Linked DNA regions of Homo sapiens: region 2 is linked to region 1. The links are contacts of gene promoters, found by promoter capture Hi-C in human tissues and cell types (Jung and others, 2019). All regions are on one chromosome and are shown on one strand. The core of a region is centred on a gene start or on the middle of the fragment in contact, and the rest is flanking DNA. Distances in the headings are between cores, read along the strand shown. Region 1 holds the start of ACADS (acyl-CoA dehydrogenase short chain). Region 2 holds the start of CLIP1 (CAP-Gly domain containing linker protein 1).

Region 1 (5,484 bases), core at 792-3,291:
GGGTGATTGAGGAATTGTACTGGACTTTAGGCTTAATATTTTTGCTTTATATTTTCCCAGGGTGAGTGGCTTTGTAAATTGAAAGTTTACATGCATGTTTTAAAGGTAGGGTTTTTTTTTTTGAGATGGAGTTTCGCTCTTTTTTCCCAGGCTGGGATGTGATGGCATGATGGTGGCTCACTGCACCCTTCGCCTCCCGGGTTCAAGTGATTGTCCTGCCTCAGCCTCCCAAGTAGCTGGGATTACAAGTGCATGCCACCACGCCCGGCTAATTCTGTATTTTTGGTAGAGACAGGGTTTCCCCATGTTGGCCAGGCTGGTCTTGAACTCCTGACCTCAGGTGATCAACCCGCCTTGGCCTCCCAAAGTTCTGGGATTACAGGTGTGAGCCACTGTGGCTGGCCATAAAGGTAGGCTTATTAAGAAATACTTTAACTACAGTAAAATTTACCTCAATTAAGAGTATTGATGCATTTTGACAAATGAATACTTTTATTACCCATCACAATCATGATATAGGACATTTCCATCGTACCCACTCAGAAAGTTCCTGAGTTCCTTGTGTTTGCAGCCAGGTGACTTCCCCCACTTCGCCTCTTGCAACCACTATCTGATTCTGTCTCTATTGGAAAACTTGGATACTTTTAAAATGAAATTTGAACGTTCATATTTACAGTCACAAATTCTCAAGAGTCTGGTTTAGATGCTCTGTGGCACCTGAAGCAATTATTGGCCTTTGCTCACAAACACAACTCACTTATTTCTCCCTTTTCTCCTGCTTCTTCATCGTTTCTTCCACCCAGGGCTGGTTCCCAGGTGGGATGACGGAAAGGTGAGGAAGCCCTTAGAGCATTTGCCAATGGGAGCCATTCATTTGACTTTAAAGTACTGAGAATTTAGAGGCGTTCTTTTAAATGCATTATTTAAAAAGAAAGGTAACACATTAAGGACTTTGCTGCATCTTTTGATTGGCTTTCTTCTAGGAAGTAGTGACCGAGGTTTCCACTTTCCTCCAAGAGGAAGAGACAGAAGTTTTGGCAAATAGGTCAATGCTGGGAACAGATGCCTGCCTGGCTGAGTGCTGGGAAAGAAAGGCAGTTGGAGGGATGTGTGGGTGCCTGGGAGGGCGTGGGTGGTGCCCAGGAGGCTATGGGAATCAGAATCACACTTGCACAAGAGAAGACCCTTATGGGACAAGTAAAATCAGCATAGTTTCTTGGGCGGGGCAAAGGTGTCCTGATGAGGATGCTAGGGGTCAAATATGTGTCTGGGTTCTGCCCCAATCGGGAATGAGACACAGTACTGAAGTGGAACGGGGGTAGCATCTCCACCCACCTTCACAGCCTCTGGGGAAAAGAAAGCTTTCCTTGCAGCCCAACTCCAGGGGCCTAAATATTGAGCACCAACACAAGACAGGTCCTTGAGCTTCTCGGAGCGAGTCGGGGAAGCAGATAATTTCAGATGCAAAGTGCCTTGAATAAACAGAACGAAAGATAGAGAGCCAGAGGGGGAGAAACGGCTTGGTGTGGTCAGGGCAGGCATCCATGAGACCTAAACGAAGAGGGGGCATTCCAGACAAAAGGAACAGTGATCACAGAGGCCCCGAGTCAGGAACCAGCTAAGGGTCTTAGAGAAGAGCTGCCTCGTAAAGCTAAGCAACAATAACCAGGGAACGGTGGGCATGGGCCCTGATAGACAAGGCAGGTCTTGGCTTTTTAAGCCATAGAATTGGATTTTAGGAGGGATGGGCCCGCCGACAAAGCCAACAAAGTTTTAACCCGAAGATCGCTATCTTATTTATGCTTTAAAAAGACCTCTCTGGCCTTTCTGCGAAGCTCTATCCTTAGCTTTCTCTTGTTAGCATTTTGATTAACGAATGTGGGCACGAACAGCCAGCTGACCGACCGCGCGCGCAGTCGAGCGTCGGTTCCTCGCCTTGGGAGGGACCACTGGAGGCCCCGCCCCCTGGCCGCGAGCGCACCTCGGCCCCGCTCCCGAGGCCCTACGGGCGTGGCCTCTGTCCCGGGTCCCGCCCCCCAGCACTCCGGAACAGCGCGCTCGCAGCGGGAGGTCGCGAAGCCTGGGACTGTGTCTGTCGCCCATGGCCGCCGCGCTGCTCGCCCGGGCCTCGGGCCCTGCCCGCAGAGGTGAGTGCGCTGGGGATCCGTACGGCGGGGCTTCAGCCCGCGTCTGGCCCAGCGGGCGGAGGTCCTGGCGGCCGGCTCTGTCAGAGCCGCTGGCAGGCGGAGCCCCACTCCGGGAGCGCTCACGGCCTTTGCCCCAGTTCTGCTGCTCCTTGCGCCGACCCAGCCCGGCCCTTCAGGCGTCCCTGGTTCCTGCACAGACCCCTACCCCCCGATTGACCCCAGCCACCAGCCCAGTTCCCAGTTCCCATATCTCCCTCCCTTCATTTCACCCCCACTAGAGGTTCAGGGTGCGTCCTTCTTCCGGAGCCAGGCCTGGGATTGAACCAGACCCGCATCTGTGACCTTGGGCAAGACAGCCCCTCCTCAGCCTCGGTTGGCCCATGTGTAAAATGTCCACAGAGAAAATCAGAGTTGTTGGGAGGATTAAATCATAGGGTATGTAAAGCACTTCGTGCCTGGCGTGTAACAGGTGTTCCACAAATGCTCGTTCTTGCTGGTTAATACAGTACCTTTCCCATCTTACGTGTCTCCAGTTGTAGCAGCCGTGACACATATAGCCACGGCTTCCTTTGCCTGGCCTGAATTACAAGGGGAACGCTACTGAGAACTGTGTTAAGCGCTAGTTAGTCTTTCTTTCGCACTCCGAGGAGCGGAATACTATTCGCCTCCACTTGTTATAGAAACGGAGGCTCACTGACGTTTAAAACCCTTGCCTAAGGTCACAGAGCTGAGGTCTTATTACTGTTGGTATTATACTGAGGACTGAAGGATGTAGTGTATGGAAATGTCTAGTGAGTGTACTAAGCATTCAGTTAGTATGGGGTTTTCAGTGGCCGCCATGGACATTTTGGGCTGACAGTTCTTTGTTGTGGGGGCTGTCCTCTGCCTTGTTGGATGTTCAGCAGGGATCCCGGACCCCTATCCACTGGGTACCAATAGTATTCCCCTGCTCTAGTTGTGACAACTAGAACTGGCTCCAGACATTGCCAGATGTCCCTTGGAGGGCAAAATCCTCCCTGGTGAGTTAGTGGGTCACTAGGATTCTTGGAGACCTCCTGCCTCCTCCTTCCACTCACTTCTGCCCTTGCCGGCAGCTCTCTGTCCTAGGGCCTGGCGGCAGTTACACACCATCTACCAGTCTGTGGAACTGCCCGAGACACACCAGATGTTGCTCCAGACATGCCGGGACTTTGCCGAGAAGGAGTTGTTTCCCATTGCAGCCCAGGTGGATAAGGAACATCTCTTCCCAGCGGCTCAGGTGAGAGTGCAACCTCAGCAGCCCACGATAGTGGTCTGCCCTCTGCTACTGGATGAATGGTGGCAGTGACAGTCAGCGGCACTCGGACTCTGGTAGAGGAACCCCAAAGCAGGGCCTGGAACCCAGAAAATGCTCTGGAAGTTTCCCTTGTCCAGCCTGTGGCCAGTAGCCAGGACTTAACTTCTGGGACAACAGTAATATGTGGTGGATGGTCAGTTGCTTACTGTGCCAGCCACTGTGCTCATTCTAAATAGTGCCTTTAGGGTGTTTGGCATGCACTAGGCACTGTTCTTGAGATGGGTTATCTCATCTGTTCCTCACAACGGTCCTGTGAGGTGAAGGTACTATTCTTATTTATTTTTTTGAGACGGAGTTTCACTCTTGTGGCTCAGGCTGGAGTGCAATGGTGCGACCTCGCCTCACTGCAGCCTCTGCCTCCTGAGTTCAAGTGATTCTCCTGCCTCAGCCTCCCAAGTAGCTGGGATTATAGGCGTGCACTGCTCTGCCCCGCTACTTTTGTATTTTTAGTAAAGACGGCGTTTCACCATGTTGGCCAGGCTGGTCTCAAACTCCTGAATTCAGGTGATCTGCCCACCTCGGCCTCCCAAAGTGCTGGGATTACAGGTGTGAGACACCACGCCCGGCCAAAGGTAGTATTATTATATACCCCATGGACTCAGACTTGTGAACAAGTTAAATAACATACCCAAGGTCATGGAGCTCATCAGCGGCAGCCTGCTCGACCTATTTTCTTTTTTATTTACTTATTTTTTTTTGAAATGGACTCTCGCTCTGTTGCCCAGGCTGGAGGGCAGTGGCGCAATCTCAACGCACTGCACCCCTCTGCCTCCTGGGTTCAAGCAATTCTCCTGCCTCGGCCCCCAGTAGCTGGGATTACAGGCGGGCACCACCACGCCCAGCTAGTTTTTGTACTTTCAGTAGAGATGGGGTTTCTCCATGTTGGGCAGGCTGGTCTCAAACTCCTGACCTTAGGCGATCTGCCCGCCTTGGCGTCCCAAAGTGCTGGGATTACAGGCGTGAGCCACCGTGCCCGGCCTGCTTGAACTGTTTTCTCCCCTGAGTTTCCCATCAGCGCGCTCCCTCCCGTGCCACTGTGTTCTTCCATTTGCATTCAGTCTGTCTGCAGCTACGCGTTGAAGATGTTACTGCCGTACACGCTGACCTAAAGATGTCCAGCACCTGGTGTAAACACTCAGTAGTAGATAGTTGTTTAATTAATGATTTGTGAAAAGTCAAACCTCTCCGGCCTCTTCTCCTTGCCTGTTTTTTTTTTTAATTTTAATTTTAATTTATTTTTTATTTTTAAAAATTTTTTGAGACAGTCTTGCTCTGTCACCAGGTTGGAGTGCAGTGGCGCGATCTCGGCTCACTGCAACCTCCGCCTTCTGAGTTCAAACAATTGTTTCCTGCCTCAGCCTCCCGAGTAGCTGGGATTACAGGCGCACACCACCATACCCGGCTAATTTTATGTATTTTAGTAGAGACGGGGTTTCACCGTGTTGCCCAGGCTGGTCTCAAACTCCTGAGCTCAGGCAATCCACCCGCCTCGGCCTCGCAAAGTGCTGGGATTACAGGCGTGAGCCACCACACCCGGCCTTAAAAATGAGTTTTAAAAGGGACGTAAAACATTGTTTTTATATGAGGGACCCACTAACCGTTTCCCAGATATGAAGGCAGCAGGTGCTGCAGGCTTGCCTTGTCTGTCACTGCTGGGAAAGGGGTCTTACAGTTTCTTACGGTTTCTCTTGGGAGTCTGGAGACCACCAGGCTCAGCCTCATCAGTGCTGTTGCCTCTTCTCAGGGTGCAGGTCAGGGTTGCTGGGTCACAGACACTAGGAACCAAGAGTGACCATTGCAGGGGGCTCTAGGAGGCCACCCCTTGAGATAGCTCTGAAGGTCAGGCCTCTCTGTAGAAAATACTAAAATATTGGGGCTGGGACGGGCGCCTGGCTGCTGTTAGTTAATTACCATCAATTTACATAGGTCAGAAACGATGGACAAACCCGAACCCATTTTTTTCCCTTGACTGCTTCTCTTTTTCTTTTTTCTTTTTTTTTT
Region 2 (5,484 bases), core at 1,232-3,731, 1.7 Mb after region 1:
ACAAAAAATTAGCCAGGCATGGTGGCAGGCACCTAAAATCCCAGCTACTCGGGAAGCTGAGGCAGGAGAATCGCTTGAACCCAGTAGGCAGAGGTTGCAGTGAGCCGAGATCACTCCATTGCACTCCAGCCTAGGCAACAAGAGTGAAATTCCATGTCAAAAAAAAAAAAAGAGATAAGGATATCAGATTCTAAACTCCTCAATAGGACAGAAACCAGATTAGCTTATGTCATGCTGAAGTGCAAGCTGGAGCTGAAGCAATGATTGAAAAAATAGGGAAGGGCAAAATCTTGATCTTCAGGCAAAATACCTACCCAGGGTCCCACCCGGTTTCAGTTTTCCCCTTTGAACTAGGTCTAGTGGGAAGATGTACTTAACTGCTTTCTCTGAACCTTAAAAATCGGGCACAAGCCTTTGGCCAAGCAATTACCCACTTCAACTTTGCTTTAATGTAGACCAGCCTTGGGGCCAGGTGCGGTAGTTCACACCTGTAATCCCAGCACTTTGGGAGCCCAAAGCAGGTGGATGACTTGAGCCCAGGAGTTCGAAATCAGCCTGGGCAACGTGGTGAAACCCCATCTCTACCACAGATACAAAAATTAGCCGGGCGTGGTGGCGGGCACCTGTAATTCCAGTACTCAGGAGGCTGAGGCACGAGAATCGCTTAAACCTGGGAGGCCGAGATTGCAGTGAGCTGAGATCACGCCACTGCACTCTGGCCGGGGGGACAGATTGAGGCTCCCTCTCATTGATTGATTGATTGATTGATGGATGGATAGACAGACAGACAGACTAGCCTTGCTTTTTGCCACAGATTCCCTATACTAATCGAATAACTAAGCACCTGAAGTCAGAATACCTGAGTTCACATGCTGGTAAAAGGTATTCTGACTTCAGGTGCTTAGCTGTATAACCCTGGTCAAGTTACTTGACCTTTCTATGACCCTCCTGCCGAATGCACATGACGACAGCACGCTCACTGGGTTAGGGTTGATTAAATGAAATAAAACACATAAAAAGCTAGCCCAGAGCCTGGCCACAAGATGCCTTCAATAAATGTTCATTGTTATAATTTACAGAGAAAAAAAGGCCCCAAGTCTGAGAAGCGACATGCCTGGGGATTCTTGCTAAAGGTTATCATTAAATCTAAAAGTCAAACAAACACATTCCTGACTCTGGGATACTCTCCTGATTCGTGGATACCATCGCTAACAGTAGTGACACAAATCAAATAATAAGAACAGCCAGAATCATAACCCTAATGACAGCAGTGGCCACAGCACTTAATACTTATAGAGCTGCTAGGGGCCACTGTCCTAAAAGAGGAAGAAGGCCAGGCTGCTGAATCACACACACACAATTACAGAATCTTCTCCACCCTTTGTTTTAAAAAACAGTTCACTGGCGCCCAAGTTTTGCTAAAAACAGGTATCTAAACCGATGACGGACAACGTGTAATTTCTTCATACCAAAGAGGTGGGGCTGTGCAGGGAGGAGGGGGTGGCGCTCGGCTCCTGCCAGATGGAAAAGCCACATGAAGTGGAGAAACAGCCGGATTCAGGATTCACCCCCGAATCAAAACCCGATTTTTGAAAGGCAGGACCTTCCAATTCGGGCAATCGCTAGGTTCTGCTTGTAAAATAACCTCTGAACAAGTGTCATCTGCCTTCCGCGCCAATCCCCTGCCGCGGTAGAAGGTTCGGATTACCGGGCAGCGGTGTGATTTCGGAAACCCGAGAGCGATCTGGCCACCTCCAGCCTTCCCCGGTCTCCGAGAATCACAGCCCCACTTGAGAGGAAAACAAAAGCCGGGGCAGCGGGGGAGGCCGGGCCAGGGTGCCCTCCATGCCGGATCGCGGGCGCCGGGCACCCGGGGCCTGAGGAATGCTCAGGTGACAGGCGCGGCGCCCGGGGCAACAGGTCCCGCCCGGCTTCGGCCTCCCGGGGTCCGGCCGATCCCACATCCGCCCCGGGGCCCAGGAGAGGGAGCGGGGCGCCAGGGAGAGAGCGGCGCCTGGGGCGGCGCAGGGGCAAGGAGTCCAAGCTCCATCTTGAGGCGGGCGGAGGAAGCGAAGGCCCGGCTCGGCGCTGACAGGGCCGCCACTTTTCCAGCTCCGGAGGAGCCCCCCAGGGACCCCCGGCCTCCGGCGCCGGCCACCCGAGACTCCCGCGGTCCCCTCCCGGACGGCTCCGGCGCGCGAGGCTCGGCCCCGCTCCCGGACGCCGGGCTTCGACCCCCGACCCGACCCTGGGCGGGCCCCGCAGGCCGGGAAGCCGGCAGGGGAGCAGGGGGTGCCGGGAAAGGGAGAGGGCCCGCGCCGCCCCCTGCTCACCTCCTCGGACGCCGCCGGTCGCCGCCACCTGTCCCACTGCAGCAGCAGCAGCCGCCGCGGCCGCCGCCTCCCGCCTCCCGGCTCGTCGGCTCGGGGCGGGGGAGAGCGTGACGCGCCGCCGCCGCCGCGGGGCCGGGCGGGCGCGCGCTGCCAGGAGAAGACGCCGCGCGGCTCCTCCCAGCGCTCCGCCGCCGCGCCCGCCCGGCCGGCCCGGCCGGCCCGGCCCCTCGAGTCCGCACCGGCCCTGCGGCCCGCGCCCGGCCCCGCGCCGCCCCGCCGCCTCTTTGTCTGCGCCCACCGCGGCCCCGGGAGGACCCTGGCCCCGGCGCGCCCGCCGCTCCGCCCTCGAACCCTCCCGAGCCCCGGCTTGGGGAGCAAGGTGCGAGGGAAAACCCACAGGCCTGCTCCGAGGGGCTTCTCGTCATTTCTGCAAAGTGTTCCCAGAATTTGCAAGTCACACCCAAGAGCCCCATTCAGCCTCGACCTCAGCCCGCTCTTTGGGGCTGATTCATTTGTTTGCCCTCCCCTTCCCGCCAGACAAGGGTGAGAAATCCTTTGAAACAGGCTGCAAGGCGCTTCCGAAGCAGGTTAAGTTGGGGATTGGGAAGGATCATCTCTGCCCTCGCCTCCCTCCAGGGAAAGACCCTGGATGAGGCGTCCCTGGAGAAAATGCTGAAAGGAACTGTAGAGCAGGTTAAGCTTGGGAAGAACTGTATCTGCTCCCCACTTCCCTCCGGGAACGACCGCGGGTTAAAAATCCTTTGAAACGATCCCAGGGTTTGCTCCGTTCGTTTGAGAAAAGCCCCTTTTATTCGCCCTGGCTGCTTGGACGGAAGCCCTGGTTAGTGTCCCATCCTCCTTCCCCCCTGGGATTTCCTTTAAAAGCTTTTGAAAGGGACAGGAGGGAAGGCTGCAACAGCCTGCTCGGGGCTGGGGTAGCAGAGGGCGGCCAGCATTTCACTCCCATGGACCATGGCAACCCCAGAAGCCTTACATCTCCAGGGAGGAATTTGCAGCTGTCGGGGAAGCCCAGGATTTTGTGGTGGATAAGGGGGCAGGGGCTTCCTCCTCCTTGCCAGTAGAAGAGAATAATCGGCGGGTGACCCCTCTAGCTGACCTTTATTCAAAGCACCGTGCTGCCTGGACCAGCAGGAAGAGGGAACTGCTCTGGTAATGCACGAAGTTCTGAACTATGTAAATTTGTCTCCTGGCCCCTCCTCTCCATTCATGTCTGAAATCCCTCGAAATGCTGTTACCTAATTCAACATCGCCCTAATTTACAGGCTGCAAGGTCAGGTGGTGGTGGTACTCCTGAAATCCCATATCCATATTCCTAATCTGAAAGGCGCGCCTCACCCCCTAATCTAAACAGTCTTCAGCTGTAATCAGCAAGCTGTGGAATCATAGATGTCATAGGATGAGGCACAGACCACTTCTAATGGGGGAGTTCAGCTAGGAACACTTATGGGCTTGTCTTTTCTTCTCTACTCAGTAGGCTGAGCCTGTCTTTATTAAAAATATTGTTTTGGGGCTGGGTGTGGTGGCTCACGCCTGTAATTCTAGCACTTTGAGAGACCCAGGTGGGTGGATCACCTGCAGACAGGAGTTCAAGACCAGCTTGGCCAACATGGTGAAACCCCGTCTCTAACAAAAAATACAAAAATTAACTGGGCATGGTGGTGCATGCCTGTAGTCCCAGCTACTCGGGAGGCTGAGACACGAGAATTGTTTGAACCCGGGAGGCGGAGGTTGCTGTGACCAGAGTTCAAGCCACTACACTCCAGCCTGGGTGCCGGAGGGAGACTCTGTCTCAAAAAATATATATATATATACACATGTATATATATATGTATATATATGTGTGTGTGTGTGTGTGTGTATATTTGCTTGTTCTCATGGGTTATTCTATGTCATTGTCATGTTCATCATTTGCTTATTTATTTATAATTATATCATTTTGTTCATCATGGAGTCTTGGCGTTAATTTTTTTTTTTTTTTTTTTTTTTGAGATGGAGTCTCACTCTGTCGCCCAGGCTGGAGTGCAGTGGTGCGATCTCGGCTCACCGCAAGCTCTGCCTCCCGGGTTCACGCCATTCTCCTGCCTCAGCCTCCCGAGTAGCTGGGACTACAGGTGCCCGCCACCACGCCCGGCTAATTTTTTGTATTTTTTTAGTACAGACAGGGTTTCACCGTGTTAGCCAGGATGGTCTCGATCTCCTGACCTCGTGATCCGCCTGCTTTGGGCTCCCAAAGTGCTGGGATTACAGACGTGAGCCACCGTGCCCGGCCATTAATTTTTATTTTTTAAAAAATATATCAGCCGGGCACAGCGGGCTGATCACGAGGTCAGGAGCTCGAGACCAGCCTGGCCAATATAGTGAAACCCCGTATCTACTAAAAATACAAAAATTAGCCGGGCATGGTGGCGCATGCCTGTAATCCCAGCTACTAGAGAGGCTGAGGCAGAAGAATTGCTTGAACCCAGGAGGCGGAGGTTGCAATAAGCCAAGATAGCACCACCGCACTGCAGCCTGGGCGACAGAGGGAGACTCTATCTCCAAAAAAAAAAAAAAAAAAAATTAGCATATCGCAATATTGTTTACCTTCACTGCCTCCTTCAATTGTGTGAGCAAGGCCTGGTCTCAGCCCTACTACCAGGGCATTGACAGGGCTCAGACCCCAGGTGGCCACTGTTAGGACTCAAAGTTCCTCCTTCAATATTTACATTCTGTTTTTAGATCTAGCCACTGTGCTTTTTTTTTTTTTTTTTTTTTAAGACTGAGTCTCGCTCTGTCGCCCAGTCTGGAGTGCAGTGGCACCATCTCGGCTCACTTCAACCTCCGCCTTGCAGGGCCAAGCTATTCTCCTGCCTCAGCCTTCCAAGTAGCTGGGACTACAGGCACGTACCACCATACCCAGCTAATTTTTTGTATTTTGGGTAGAGAGGGGGTTTCTCTGTGTTATCCAGGATGGTCTCAATCTCCTGACCTCGTGATCCGCCCACCTCGGCCTCCCAAAGTGCTAGGATTACAGGCATGAGCCACCGCGCCCGACTGCCACAGTGCTTTCTTAAATGCATGTCTTCTGTAAATATGAGAACAGCTCAATTGATGAGACATTGGGAGGTGGAAGGGATGTTGCAGAAGTAGA

The links. Contacts are between HindIII fragments. The study calls those that stand out against the background at their distance.
Region 2: a contact is called between the fragment with the promoter of CLIP1 here and the fragment with the promoter of ACADS in region 1, in 1 of the 25 tissues and cell types used here (aorta).

The regions. Positions count from the first base shown.
Region 1 is chr12:120,723,785-120,729,268 of GRCh38, forward strand. ACADS (acyl-CoA dehydrogenase short chain) reads left to right here and starts at 2,042. Exons shown (of 10, transcript NM_000017.4): 1 at 2,042-2,147; 2 at 3,242-3,405. The coding sequence starts at 2,102. RefSeq lists an enhancer at 1,714-2,215 and a silencer at 1,852-2,361. The HindIII fragment of the contact is 31,377 bases long and covers 1-5,484 here.
Region 2 is chr12:122,420,188-122,425,671 of GRCh38, forward strand. CLIP1 (CAP-Gly domain containing linker protein 1) reads right to left here and starts at 2,482. Exons shown (of 26, transcript NM_001247997.2): 1 at 2,334-2,482. RefSeq lists silencers at 1,779-2,178, 2,199-2,548 and an enhancer at 3,658-3,757. The HindIII fragment of the contact is 23,258 bases long and covers 1-5,484 here.